Linked DNA regions of Homo sapiens: region 1 is linked to region 2. Evidence: promoter capture Hi-C in 16 types of primary human blood cells and fetal thymus (Javierre and others, 2016). All regions are on one chromosome and are shown on one strand. The core of a region is centred on a gene start or on the middle of the fragment in contact, and the rest is flanking DNA. Distances in the headings are between cores, read along the strand shown. Region 1 has its middle 3.4 kb from the start of MIR3193. Region 2 holds the start of DEFB124 (defensin beta 124).

Region 1 (6,357 bases), core at 658-3,157, 140 kb before region 2:
AATTAGCCGGGTGCGGTGGCGGGCGCCTGTAGTCCCAGCTATTGGGGAGGCTGAGTCAGGAGAATGGCGTGAACCCGGGAGGCGGAGCTTGCAGTGAGCCGAGATCGAGCCACTGCACTCCAGCCTGGGCGACAGAGCCAGACTCCGTCTCAAAGAAAAAAAAAAAGAAAAGAAAAGAAAGAAGAAAGAAAAGAAAAAGAAAAAGAAAAGAAATTTCCAAGATTAGCCCAAGATCTCCTCCTTTAAAAGGGAAGGAATGCCGGGCACGCTGGCTCACGCCTGTAATCCCAGCACTTTGGGAGGCTGAGGCGGGCGCATCACGAGGTCAGGAGATCGAGACCATTCTGGCTAACACGGTGAAACCCCCTCTCTACTAAAAATACAAAAAATTAGCTGGGCGTGGTGGCGGGCGCCTGTAGTCCCAGCTACTCCGGAGGCCGAGGCAGGAGAATGGCGTGAACCCTGGAGGCGAAGGTTGCAGTGAGCCGAGATCGTGCCACTGCACTCCAGCCTGGGCGACAGAGCGAGACTCCATCTCAGAAAAAAAAAAAAAAAAAGGGAGGGAATGAGGCTCATAGGGGGTTGTCACAAGCAAGGAAGAGGAAAGAGGATGAGAGAATGGGGGAAACGGTAGCCAAAGGGGGCCTGAGAGAAGGGGCTGAGGGTTTACATGTGCGCAGAACTCTTCACTCTCCTAACACGCTTGCAGCTCTGACTGCAGTTCCCAAGGCGTCCACTAGAGGCCACCAAGGCATCAGCCTCCGCCTCTCGCCGCAACCAGGCCGCCTTTCTCGCCCACGGTGGCATAGCCCGGGCTCTGCCCGGGAGGGGGCGCTGGTGGCCAAAGGAAGACGGGGGCGGGCACAGCGCCTGCGTTTGCAGCTGCATGAGACCAGGTGCTCTGGAAAGCGCTGGCCCGCTTCCCAGCTCTTCTCTGCCGCCCAGAGATTTTAGGGTCTCAAACCCAAAAACCGGGCCGGACAGGGTGGCTCACGCCTGTAATCCCAGTGCTTTGGGAGGCAGAGGCGGGAGGATTGCTTGAGCCCAGGATTTTGAGGCCAGCCTGGGCAACCATGCAAGACCCCGTCTCTATTAAAACAACAACAGGCCGGGCCCGGTGGTTCACGCCTGTAATCTCAGCACTTTGGGAGGCCGAGGCGGATGGATCACCTGAGGTCAGGCGTTGGAGACCATCCTGGCCAACATGATGAAATCCCGTCTCTACTAAAAATACAAAAAATTAGCTGGACGTGGTGGTGCACGCCATAGTCCCAGCTACTCGGGAGGCTGAGGCAGAAGAATCGCTTGAACCCAGAAGGCAGAGGTTGCAATGAGTCGAGATTGCGCCACTGCACTCTAGCCTGGTGACAGAACGAGACTTTGTCTCACAATTAAAAAAAAAAAAAAAATTAGCTGGGCGTGGTGGCAGGCACCTGTAACCCCAGCTACTTGGGAGGCTGAGGCAGGAAAATCGCTTGAACCCAGGAGGCGGGGGTTGCAGTGAGTTGAGATGGTACCATTGCACTCCAGCCTGGGTGACAAGGAGGAAACTGTCTCAAAAAATATATAAATAAATAAAAATAAATTAATAAAATAACAAAACAAACCCAAGCAACGAACAGCACCCACAGACACGATTCTTTGTCTTCTGCAGCTATGCCTTCAAGCTTGGGCCCTGCTCGGTCTCGTCTATATATAAAGAAGAGGATCTAGGTTTGTGCAGCCTCTAAGGAAAAGAATACAACATTTTGCAAATCTTGCAAAACACACAGAAATCATGCTAACACATGGCTGATACTCTTTCCATGTGAGGAGGCTTGAAGTTTAAGCTTAAGTAATTTCCAGGTAAATGCACCTCTGATTACACATCTGCATATTTATCTACTGCGTGTCTCCCACTAAGAATGTAAGTTCCAAGACTGCAAGAATTTGTATCTGAATTGTTAACTCCTGGGGCCCGGTTCCTAGTATATTGTAGAAGCTTTATAAACTATTTGTTGAAAGAACCAGTTGGGGCTAGTTTCACAGGTAGAAGTACAATGGCCTAGCCTGAGGCTTGAGGAGTGCAAAGGTTTGGGATGATATCACTGAAACCTCAAAACGGTGAGTATAACACCCATTTAAAAGCTGGGAATGAGGCTGGGCGACATGGTGGCTCACACCTGTAATCCCAGCACTTTGGGAGGCCAAGGCGGGCAGACCACGAGGTCAGAAGGTCAAGACCAACCTGGCCAACACGGTGAAACCCCGTCTCTACTAAAAACACAAAAATTAGCTGGGCGTGGTGGCACGTGCCTATAACCCCAGCTACTTGGGAGGGTGAGGCAGGAGAATCACTTGAACCTGGGAGACACAGGTTGCAGTGAGCTGAGCTCCTGCCACTGCACTCCAGGCTAGCAAGAGAGGGAGACTCTGTCTCAAAAAAAAAAAAAAAAAAAAAATGCTGGGGATGGCAGGGTGCAGTGGCTCACACCTGTAATCCCAACAATTTGGGAGGCCAAGGCAGGTGGATCACCTGAGGTCAGTAGTTCGAGACCAACCTGGCCAACATGTAGAAACCCTGTCTCTACTAAAAATACAAAAATTGCTGGGCGTCGTGGTGCACACCGGTAGACTCAGCTACTGGAGGGGCTGAGGCAGGAGAATTGCTTGAACCCAGGAGGCAGAGGTTGGCAACAGAGTGAGACTCCGTCTCAAAAAAAAAAAAAAAAATGCTGGGGATCCTAAGAGCCCAGGAGGTGAAGCAGGTGCCCAACCAGAAGTGGCACTGGGCCTAGAACCCGCATTTGCCTTGCCTCTTGCCCTGCCTTTGCTCCCAGCCACTGTCCTCCCTTTAACCCCCCTTGCACAAGGCCTTGATGCAACCCTGTACTGGCCTGGGGCACCCTGCTTGAGGACAGCGTTGGGAACGAGGTTTTGCAAGAGTTGCAGCAGGAAGCAGCACCAGCCAGGGCAGGTCCAGGGAGATAAGGGCACCCTCGCCCCTCCCTGTGCTCCTCCTGGCCTTCTGGTTTCCTCTTCCCTTCCCTTTCCTGGAAAGTGGCGCCTGCCTGGACCCTGGCCCCAGCCTCGCCCAGCTCCTGGCCTGGCCCTGTGACTCACCTCCTTTCTTTCCGGCAGCCATGCTAGGATGTGAGACCTGCCTGCCACCAGGAAGCCCTGCTGTGTGTGACACTGGGCAGCAGGGAGCTCTCTCTGGCTGGCAGTTCCTGGTGCTCAATAAGAGTGACTGGCATGGGTCGGGTGTGGTGGCTCACGCCTGTAATCCCAGCACTTTGGGAGGTTGAGGAGGGCTGATCACCTGAGGTCAGGAGTTCGAGGCCAGCCTGGGCAACATGGTGAAACCCCGTCTCTACTAAATATATAAAAATTAGCCAGATGTGGTGGTGCGCGTCTGTAATCTCAGCTACTCAGGAGGCTGAGGCATGAGAATTGCTTGAACCCGGGAGGCGGAGGTTGCAATGAGCCAAGATCACGCCACTGCACTCCAGCCTGGGCGACAGAGCGAGACTCTGTCTCAAAAAAAAAAAAAAAAAAAAAAAAAGAGCCGGGCACGGTGGCCTCATGCACTTTGGGAGGCTGAGGAGGGTAGATCACCTGAGGTCAGGAGTTCGAGAGCAGCCTGGCAAACATGGTGAAACCCTGTCTCTACTAAAAATACAAAAATTAGCTGGGCGTGTTGGCATATGCCTGTAATCCCAGCTTCTTGGGAAGCTGAGGCAGAAGAATTGCTTGAAACTGGGAAGCGGAGGTTGCGGTTGAGTCGAGATCGCCCCATTGCACTCCAGCCTGGGTGACGAGGAAAACTGTCTTAAAAAAAAAAATAGACATTCCCCAATATGGGTTGCAAAAATTGTGATATGTGTATATTTCTTGCATTTATCTGAGTTATGCTTTTAAAACAAATAAATATAATGACCAGGTATGATTTCAGTTGGAAATAAGATGAAAGGCTTTATAAACTGGACATACTGTGGGAACATGAGGCCCCTCATAAACCTGATTTAGACAAGTCTGATTTCTGGAAAGTCCTCTAAGGTAATGTGCAATGTGGCCTTGGGTGGGTCACCTCACCTCTTTGATGCCTCCGTTTTCTCATCTGAAAAGTGAACACAGGCCGGGCACGGTGGCTTACATCTGTAATCCCAGCTCTTCGGGAAGCTGAGGTGGGCAGATCCCTTCAGGTCAAGAGTTCGAGACTAGCCTGGCCAACATGGTGAAAACCCTTTTCTACAAAAAAAATACAAAAATTAGCTGGGCATGGTGGCACGTGCCTGTAATCCCAGCTACTCGGGAGGCTGAGGCAGGAGGATCACTTGAACCTGGGAGGTGGAGGTTGCAGTGAGCCAAGATGGTGCCACCGCACCCCAGCCTGGGCAATAGAGGGAGACTCTGTCTCAAAAAAACCAAAAAAGTGAATATACCAGTAGGCCCACACCTGGTAGGGCTGTTGAGACAATCCGCTCAAAACACTTTATTGCAATATGCACTAAGTATCTACCATGAGCCTGTGCTATGCTTTTTAGGTGCATTGGTTCAATTAATCCTTGAAGCCCAGGTTCTGAAGCCCGTTTTCCAAAAAAGAAGAGGCTCTGACAGGTGAAGTGATGAGCATCAAGGTTGATTCTGGGCTTGTGTTCTACCTGCCTCCCTACTAAAATGTTAGCCTATTACTCTTGTTGTAGTGGTGGTGGTTGCTCTTATTAAAATGAGCATATGATGATAGCACTGGCCTCGTTAACAAGTTCTGACGATTAAATGAATTGATATTGTAAAGAGTTTAGCATGGTGCCCAGCACACAATAAGCTCTCTGTATTTCTTAAATAAAATTAACAGTACAGCCCCGGAAAGGCAGAGTCCAGTGCCCAAGAAACTTGGTCCTCGGGTTTCTCGGCATCTTCCACCCCAGCTCCTGGCTTCGTCCTGTCCAGGAGGGGTTAAGGAGTTAATGATTTCCAAAGGAGCAGGGTTTTGTGTGTTACATGCACACACACCGGTGGCCTCTGTCCCCCCTCCCTCTGCGAGGCCCGGAGCCTCTTATGCAAGCCGCCGGCGCCCGCCGGTTCCCAGGCCCGGCTGCAGCTGGGGGCGGAGGGGCAGGGCGGGGGCGGCGCGCTGTTTGTCTAGCGCGGCTGTGCCAAAGGCTGCGGGCCCCAGACAGCCAGGCGCCTCCGTACACCTGGGGATGCTCAGGTTAAATAGCTCCGCATTCCTCGGGCCCAGCTGATGGAAACGCTCCCAGGCCGCCGCGGAGCCGGCCTCCAGATGGGCTGGGTCTGGGCCAAAGGGGAACAGAGGGAAACGTGGAATCCAGAGTGTGCCTGAATGGCGGGGGAGGTGGCCCAGGCCCCCGCCGCAGCCCCTTCCTCCCCTGGAAAAAGGCCCTGCATGTCGGAGTACGCGAGGGGGAACCCGCTCAGACCCCGTGGGTGGGCTTGCAGGCGGGGGCCCACACGTGAGAGTGCGTGCGTGCACACGTGTGCCTCCGAGGACACTCCAAGGACTCACAGGCGACAATAATAATTTATAACTATGAAACATTCTGTGCCAAGCACTGTGCTAAACGTTTTACACACTTACTTTATTTCATTTATTCTGTACTACATTCCGTGAGGTTAGTACTGTAATACAGCAGCCGGTGGGGAGGAGGTAGCAAAGAACATAATTCGCCTGCAAGTACTGGGTTCTTCGATAAAATCCATAAACTGTGGAGGGGGTGTACCTGGCTTAATGTTAGTGCTCAAATCATAATCTTTCATTTGATTTTTTGTTCATCCCCTCTCTGAGCTTGTTCCTTCTGCTGTAAAACTGGGATCACAGTCTTGCCTTTAGCCCCACAGGGATCCATGAAATCGTTTTTGTAAAGGGTTCAGTTGAGCAGAGCCAGGCTTCTGGTGCTAAGGGCTATTGATTTTATTCTATTGTTTATTGACAAAATATATTAATAGCCCTTACCTGTCTGGGACAAGTTCTTTGTCATTCCTGGGACTCAGTTTCTCCATATGTAATACAGGGGGGTTTACCTGGCAGCAATCCTTGAGGGTTGGTGCCCCCAGGACCTAACGATAGCCCAGGGAGTTGCCACGTGAACTTTTGAGGAAGGGTTTGCCCAAACACAGCTGTCCCCACCTTCACTCCAGACCCGCAGAGGCCCAGGAATGCCAACCAATCTATAGAACAGTTATACACACAGAAACCCACAGTGTGGTTCTGTGGCCCCCAGACACACAAACCCATCCATCATGCCAGACCCATGCAGAGATGCCTACAATGCATTTAGGCAGAACACACAAGCCCAAACAGCTGGAGGTTCCACACTTATCTGCAGAACACATGTGCTCTCATTTGCCCTTCTG
Region 2 (6,495 bases), core at 3,379-5,878:
TACACTAAGGTCCTAAGGCCCATCCAATTCTGTCAGATTCAGCCTCTCTGATATCAGAGTACCATGTAGCGCACAGACGGAACGGATGGATACTTTTTTCAATGATGCTGCTATTGCTTGGACCCTCTTTGAGACCTCTCTTCACAGTCACCGATCAGGGAAACTAGTTCAGTTTCCTAATTTTGCTGGTTGCAAAAATAAAAGGCCAGAAAAGAGGAGAAAATGTTCTCAAGGCGAAAGCAAGCTGGGTGTGGAGTTCCAGCTCCCGCCTTCTAGTCTAGTATCCTTTCTCCCCTGTCTCCTGAGTGGGACTCCCAGTCTGATCACCCATCTTAACTTGCTGGACACTGACTGCCCCATAGCATTCTCAGCTGCATATGAAAAGTAGACCCTCTAACCAGCCTGTGAGGTCCACGAAGCCAGAGGGCCTGTCTGCCTTATTCATCTCTGTGTCTCCAAGGTCCTGGTCCATGATAGACACCCAGCAAGTATTTCTGAATGAATGAATGAGCAAATGACTGAAACCTCAGCTGAAGGTTCAGAAGGTGATGCTCTTGAGGGGGAGGACAGTCATAAGACGAGGACTCTTATGCAGTCCTAATGCATAAGAATACAGCCTCGGCCGGGCATGGTGGCTCATGCCTGTAATCCCAGCACTTTGGAAGGCCGAGGCGGGTGGATCACCTGAGGTCAGGAGTTCAAGACTATCCTGACCAACATGATGAAACCCTGTCTCTACTAAAAATACAAAAATTAGCTGGGCATGGTGACAGGTGCCTGTAATCCTAGCTACTTGGGAGGCTGAGGCAGGAGAATTGCTTGAACCTGGGAGGCGGAGGTTGCAGTGAGCCGAGATGGCGCCACTGCGCTCCAGCCTGGGCAACAAGAGTGAAACTCTGTCTAAAAAAAAAAAAAAAAAAGAATAAGATCTACAAAGATTTTGTAGATCTGGGTTTGGATCTTACTTGCTATTTGAGAGCTTTGGACACATTATTATTATTATTTAACCGCTCTGGTCTTTGGTTTCCTCATCAGTAGAATGGGAATCAGAAGACTCACCATTTAGTTTTTGAGCAGCCTATCCCCTAGAGAGATGGGATCCCAGGTGATTTTAGATCCTTCTCTTTGCTTAGGTGTTTTTCCTCAGAGTTCTACAATGAGCATGTATTACCCATGTAGCAAAAGAAAAGAAAACACAAACCAGATAAAATCATAATAGGGACATATTCCTGCCTACTGCTGTCTTCCTGCCCTGATTTCCTTTTTCTCTAGCTACCAAGTCATAATTACTAAGAGTTATCATTTACAATTCTTCACCCCTATTCAGCAGTTTTTCATGCTTTAAACTGGGCTTACCTCTGAAATTGCATAAGAACTTTAAAAAACTAGCTGATGAGGAAGGCAGGAATGGTTAACCCATTTATCAGATGAGAAAACTGAAGCTCGGAGTGGCTAAGTCAATTGCACAAAACTACACAACTAGTAAGAAAAAGAAAGGGGGTTCAGCCTTAGGTATTTTGGGGCCAAATCCAGCGTTCCTTCTGTACAATGTGGGTGGGAGGGGTGGGAAGAGGGTGGAAATAATGATGGGGAGATCTGCAGGGGGAGAAGTACATTCTGAGATGGCTGCTAGGAGGGGATTGTGGAGTGAGAAAAGGGGTCAGGGTCATAAGGGTCTTCTGTTTGGGATTGGAAAGACTGCTTAGGAGCTGTGGGTTTTGGGGGAGGGTGCTGAGGATGGCCGTTGCTCACACCTGATCTGTAGTGTCCCCAGGAGGGGACAGGAAGGAGTCTAGTATTAGGCTCAGCACCCCTCTCCCCAAATTCTGCTTGCAGTGCCATACCAGTTTCTCGGCCTCCCAGGTGTCCACGACCACCAGTGTGGTGTCTTCTCCATCCACCGTGAGGGTCCTCTCATATACATCTTCTGCAACCGAGGGAAGAGCTGGATCTCAGGGAGGACGGGCAAGCCTGAGAGAGTGTGGTGTTCCCTGCCCCCCATTTCTGGTCATATCGCCCCCTCCACTTGTCCTCGGAAACGCTTATCACACTTGTTTGATGCCTGTCTCTCCTGGTAGGAGCCCATGTCTCCCCAGCTGCCATAGTACCTGGCACATAGTAGGTGCCAGAAAGATTTGATTGATTGAATGAAGGTGGGGTGGTGGGGTTAAAGTTGGGCTAGGAATTCTCCCAGGCCTGCTCTGTCTCTGATTTAGTGAGTGCTTCAGGCAGGTCATGTTATCCTCTCTTGACCTCAGTCTCCCTATCTGTAACACATATGTGTTCTCACTCGGAGAGAGAAGTCAAGACTAGAGAGGAGTCTGGCTAGATGTCCCTACCTTTTCTCTGCATTTAATCAACCCCCTTCCCCCACTCACCCTATGTCCTTTTGGCCAGTCCTTCAGGGGCCTACCTTCATCTCTTCTATCTTCCCTGTACCCCATCATCCTGGGGCCCCCGACACTCTCAGCTCACAGCAGTTCTTGGGAATAAAGCAACCCAGGGCCCAGAACTTGGGGTCTCGGAGTCTCCCTTCTGCAAAGGATCTTAGTTTTGCTGTAGATCATGGTGACCATGGATGGGTGTCTATGGGACTGGGAGAATCTAAGAGTCAGAGGAGTCAGGGAGGGGAGTTTCTGACCTTGGTGGAAGTCCACCATTTCTTAACATGGAATTCAGAATTGCCACCCGCATGACATGGAAATGAATCATATACTTCTCATTCATGGGAAGTTGGCAAAATTCTTGTTCTATTCAAGAATTTCCCTCCCCTTGACCATTGTGCAGGCTGTGCCCTGTACAACTTTGGAGGGCGGGGGGGCATCGTGCATGTCATAGTCTAAGTGAATGATGCCCCTTAGAGTTGAACAGTGCATGACTTGTACAACTGTTCTTGGCAGCCCTGTGTCCCTGGTGACAGGGCTTTCGCTCCTTTGGCCACATCCCAGCCCAGCCCATATGGCCCCTACCTCCCAGCTGTTCATGGAGGTCCCTCTCTTGCTTCCCTGCAAAGAGGCTGGCCAAGCTGGTCTTCCCCACTCCAGGATCTCCAAGTAGCACCACACGGTAGAGAGCCTCCCAGGAGCCTTCAGAGTCGCTGGATTCAGAAGACCAATCATCTGGGGCAGGTGAAGGTTTCTGGGTGGGAGGGTTGAGGGAGGCTGATTGGCCCAGCCGGGGATGCTGGGATTGAGTGGAAGGCACTGTGCTCAGGCGGCCAGGCTGGTGGCCCCGTGGGGACAGGGGCAGTGGGGTGCTGGCTCGCCGGTGCAGAGGGGTCTTTGCTTCCTGCTCGGTGTTGAGTGTCATCTTTGGTAGGGGGGGGTTTGCTTCTTCCTTCTTTCCTTCTGAAAGAAGGGGGAATTGGCTGTCAGCCAATTGCTTTGAGCTGCTTCTTTCTATAGTGTCCTGATGAGCTGCTGTATGGCTTCTTCCAGATCCCCCTCTTGTTCAGATGGGAGTAGGAGGTGCCTCAGCTTCTTGGGGCAGAAAGTCCCTAGGTTTTCTGGCCTCAGGCTCTGCATAAACCTGGATCCGGATGGAAGGAGTGAGTGTGCAGGCTGTGAACACACAGACATGCACACCCAGAGGCCATTCCCTTGTCTTAAGGATGATCTACTCCTGATGACAGACAGGCAGGTGGAGGGGCAGTAGTAAGGTGGGATGTCCTCACATGCACACTCCCCATTCCGTGTACACGGACCTGCCCTTGCCACAGAACATGAGGCCCTGGCTCTGAAAGACATCTGAATTGTCCCCCTCCTCCCCTTCCCCACCGCTCTCTTTCACAGCTTCTGGGTTGGGAGTGCAGTTTCAGGTCTCCCCCAAGGGTAGGGGCTACTTAACTTTCGATGCCCAATTTCACGGGGTCTGAGGAGGAAGAGGCAGGAGGGCGGGTTGGCACTCCAGAAGCGCGAGGGGGGTATGGGGGTAACCCGACTGTAACCCGAGTGCCCTAGTGCCATGGGAACCGCGTGTCTGACCCGCCCCCTGTGTGAAAAATTCAGGAGCGGCTGGCGCTACGGCCTCCAACTGCTTTTGGGGACGGGAGCTGCCGCCGGTCAGGCCCCAGGTTAGGTGACAGGACAGGGTCCTGGCAGGGGACGGGGAGGGCAGACCACAGGGCCCGGGAACGCTGTGCCATTCCTGGAGTCTGGGTCCGAGCTTTCTCAGCCGGCATCCCGGGTGTGAATCCCCCATCCTGGGGTTGGAGGGGTCTTTGTCCAGGGCTATCCAGCCCTCCGGGTCCCAGGTCTGAAGACCCTCACCCTAGGGACGCGGTTTCGAAGCCCCCCTATTCCTGCCAACGCTGCCGAATCCCCCTTCAATCGCCTGGCGAACTCTGCTCCAACTTGAGCAAGTTGGCGGCGCGTAGCGCAGGGCTTTACCTCGGCGTGGGAGGGGTCCAGGGTCCCTCGCAGCTCCAGCGGCTGGATGCTCCAGGCTGTACCACCCGCCTCAGTGAGCAGCCCCTCAGGCCAGTTCCCCTCCCCTCGCCGCCTCGGCCGGGGGAGGAGCCGCGACCCCGCCCCATCCAGCCCCGCCCCATTAGGGCAGCCCCGGGGTCCCCGCCCCAAGGCCCTGGCCGCTCAGTGACTTTTCTGAAAGTGCAGAGCTCAGCTGACCCGCTTCTGCCAGCCCTACGCACCGGGTGAGGGTGGCAGACGAGAAAGGAAGGATGGGGGCTCTGGATTCCTGGGTCTGGAGCTCCATCTGCGTCCACATCTGTCCACTCCATCAAGGGGATGCACTAACATATTAGCCCCCAGAAAAACCACTTGGGGAACTTGCTAAATTTTCAGGTCCCGCCTTCCAAGAGAGGCGGATTCCACGGTGCTGGGGGAGGGGTTCGGGAATCTGCGTTTTAAACAAGTGCCCCAAGTGATCCTGATGCAGGCGGTTCACTGACCTCACTTTAAGAAACTCTGCTCTGGATGAAGAATTAATTTTGGGAGGTGGCTTGGAGGAAGAGAGAGCTCAGGAAGTCTGCACTGAAGAATTATGAAAATCTTATTTTGGCATCATTCATTCATTCACCAACTGAGGCTTAGCTGGGCCTGGGCCTGAGGTCTCTGCCACTCTGTCTACTGTTTCTATTACTGATGGCTGAAAAAAAAAATGCTCCCAGGTATGGAGGAGGAGGAAAGAGATTGCTGGTGACGTCGGCCATCCAAGGGGCCAGGATCCAGACTCTTTGACTGGGCTGCCTCCCTTTAGGTCTTGAGAAATTGGGGTGTGTCTGTGTGTGGAGCCCATGGAGACCAGGCTGCACCTGTGGGTGGGGCTCATTGTCATGGCTGAGGGGATTCAGGTGTTCAGCTTGGAATAACTCCCACAGCAGCTGAACAGACTGGCTCAGCCCCCACAGGTCTTGGAGCTGATACAGAACCCCCTCGTGCCTGGCTTCCTTCCGTGGCTTGGCCCTCTAAGCTTACCTTTCTAACTTGCAAGATGGGCCATGAGTGGTGCAGCACCCTTCATTGTCTGGGAGTGAGGTGACTTGGCTTTTCCATCTCTGCAGCACAATTGCTGTGTGACCTTAGGCAAGTCAACTTCCCTCTTTGGGTTTCAGTTTCTTTATTTAAAACTATAATATGAACAGCTTACACTCTTGCTAAAAAACTTTTGGTTGTCTATAATACAAAAGTCTGAACTTGGCATTCAAGCCCCAACCTATTCTCTGCAGAATCATTTCAACCTCTCCTCCCAGGAAAACCCTTGCTTGGCTCATGCCCTACTCTTCTAGGCACATTCTATTCTTTCTGCCCGGGATACCTTTTCCCCTACTCATCTTTCATGATGCAACTTAGATTCCTGTGTACCAGACACTGTTCTAAGCTCTGCACGGATATTATCTCAGGGGTTCTCAAACTTTGGCGGTGTGTTAGAATCACTTGGAGGGCTTGTTAAGCCACATTTTGCCGGGACCCACCCATACTCTCATCTATGACTAGTGATCTAACAAATGACCAGAGAGCTAACTTGTGACCAGTGTTAGTGAATCTGTGGTCTAACTTGTAACCAGTGGTTTAACCTGTGACCCATGGGCTGCTCTGTGACCTGTGGCCTTCTTCTGCTTAGGAAGAGGTGAATTCAGTAGGTTTGGGGTAGGGCTAAAGAACTGGTGTTTCTAACAAGTCCCAGGTGTTGCTGCTGCTTGCTGGGGGAACCATAGTATAGGAGCCACTGTATTACTTCATTTAGTCCCCTAAATGAGATGGGTAGCTATTACTCTCTATGACATGGGTACTATTACTCTTCCCATTTTAGAGTAGGCCTGCATACATGCTGTTCACTTGGCCTTGTAAGGGATGCTTGTCATCATTTCATAGACAACAGCCTGAGGCTCAGAGAGGTTAAGTGACTTGTCTGATGTCTCACAGCAGTTAGGGGGAGATGCGGGGGATTGAACTAGGTCTCTCTTAAGCCAAGATTTTTTCCACTCTCTTAGGTGGGGAAGATGTCTAGTTTCTGACCCTAGACACTGCCTCAGAA

The links. The method cuts DNA at HindIII sites, captures the fragments that hold promoters and counts their contacts. A CHiCAGO score of 5 or more calls a contact.
Region 1: a fragment that was not itself captured here is called in contact with the fragment with the promoter of DEFB124 in region 2 in 3 of 17 cell types (M0 macrophages, M1 macrophages and M2 macrophages); the score reaches 7.5 in M0 macrophages.

What each region holds. Positions count from the first base shown.
Region 1 is chr20:31,607,448-31,613,804 of GRCh38, reverse strand. No RefSeq gene overlaps it. Among named protein-coding and RNA genes, the nearest start is that of MIR3193, 3.4 kb to the right of the region's middle. RefSeq lists cis regulatory regions at 2,684-3,282, 4,828-5,403. The HindIII fragment of the contact is 152 bases long and covers 1,832-1,983 here.
Region 2 is chr20:31,473,260-31,479,754 of GRCh38, reverse strand. DEFB124 (defensin beta 124) reads left to right here and starts at 4,628. Exons shown (of 3, transcript NM_001037500.2): 1 at 4,628-5,128. It overlaps REM1 (RRAD and GEM like GTPase 1), which reads right to left and starts at 4,467. Exons shown (of 5, transcript NM_014012.6): 1 at 4,389-4,467; 2 at 2,970-3,528; 3 at 1,845-1,927. The coding sequence starts at 3,309. RefSeq lists a silencer at 4,516-4,575. The HindIII fragment of the contact is 9,153 bases long and covers 1-5,432 here.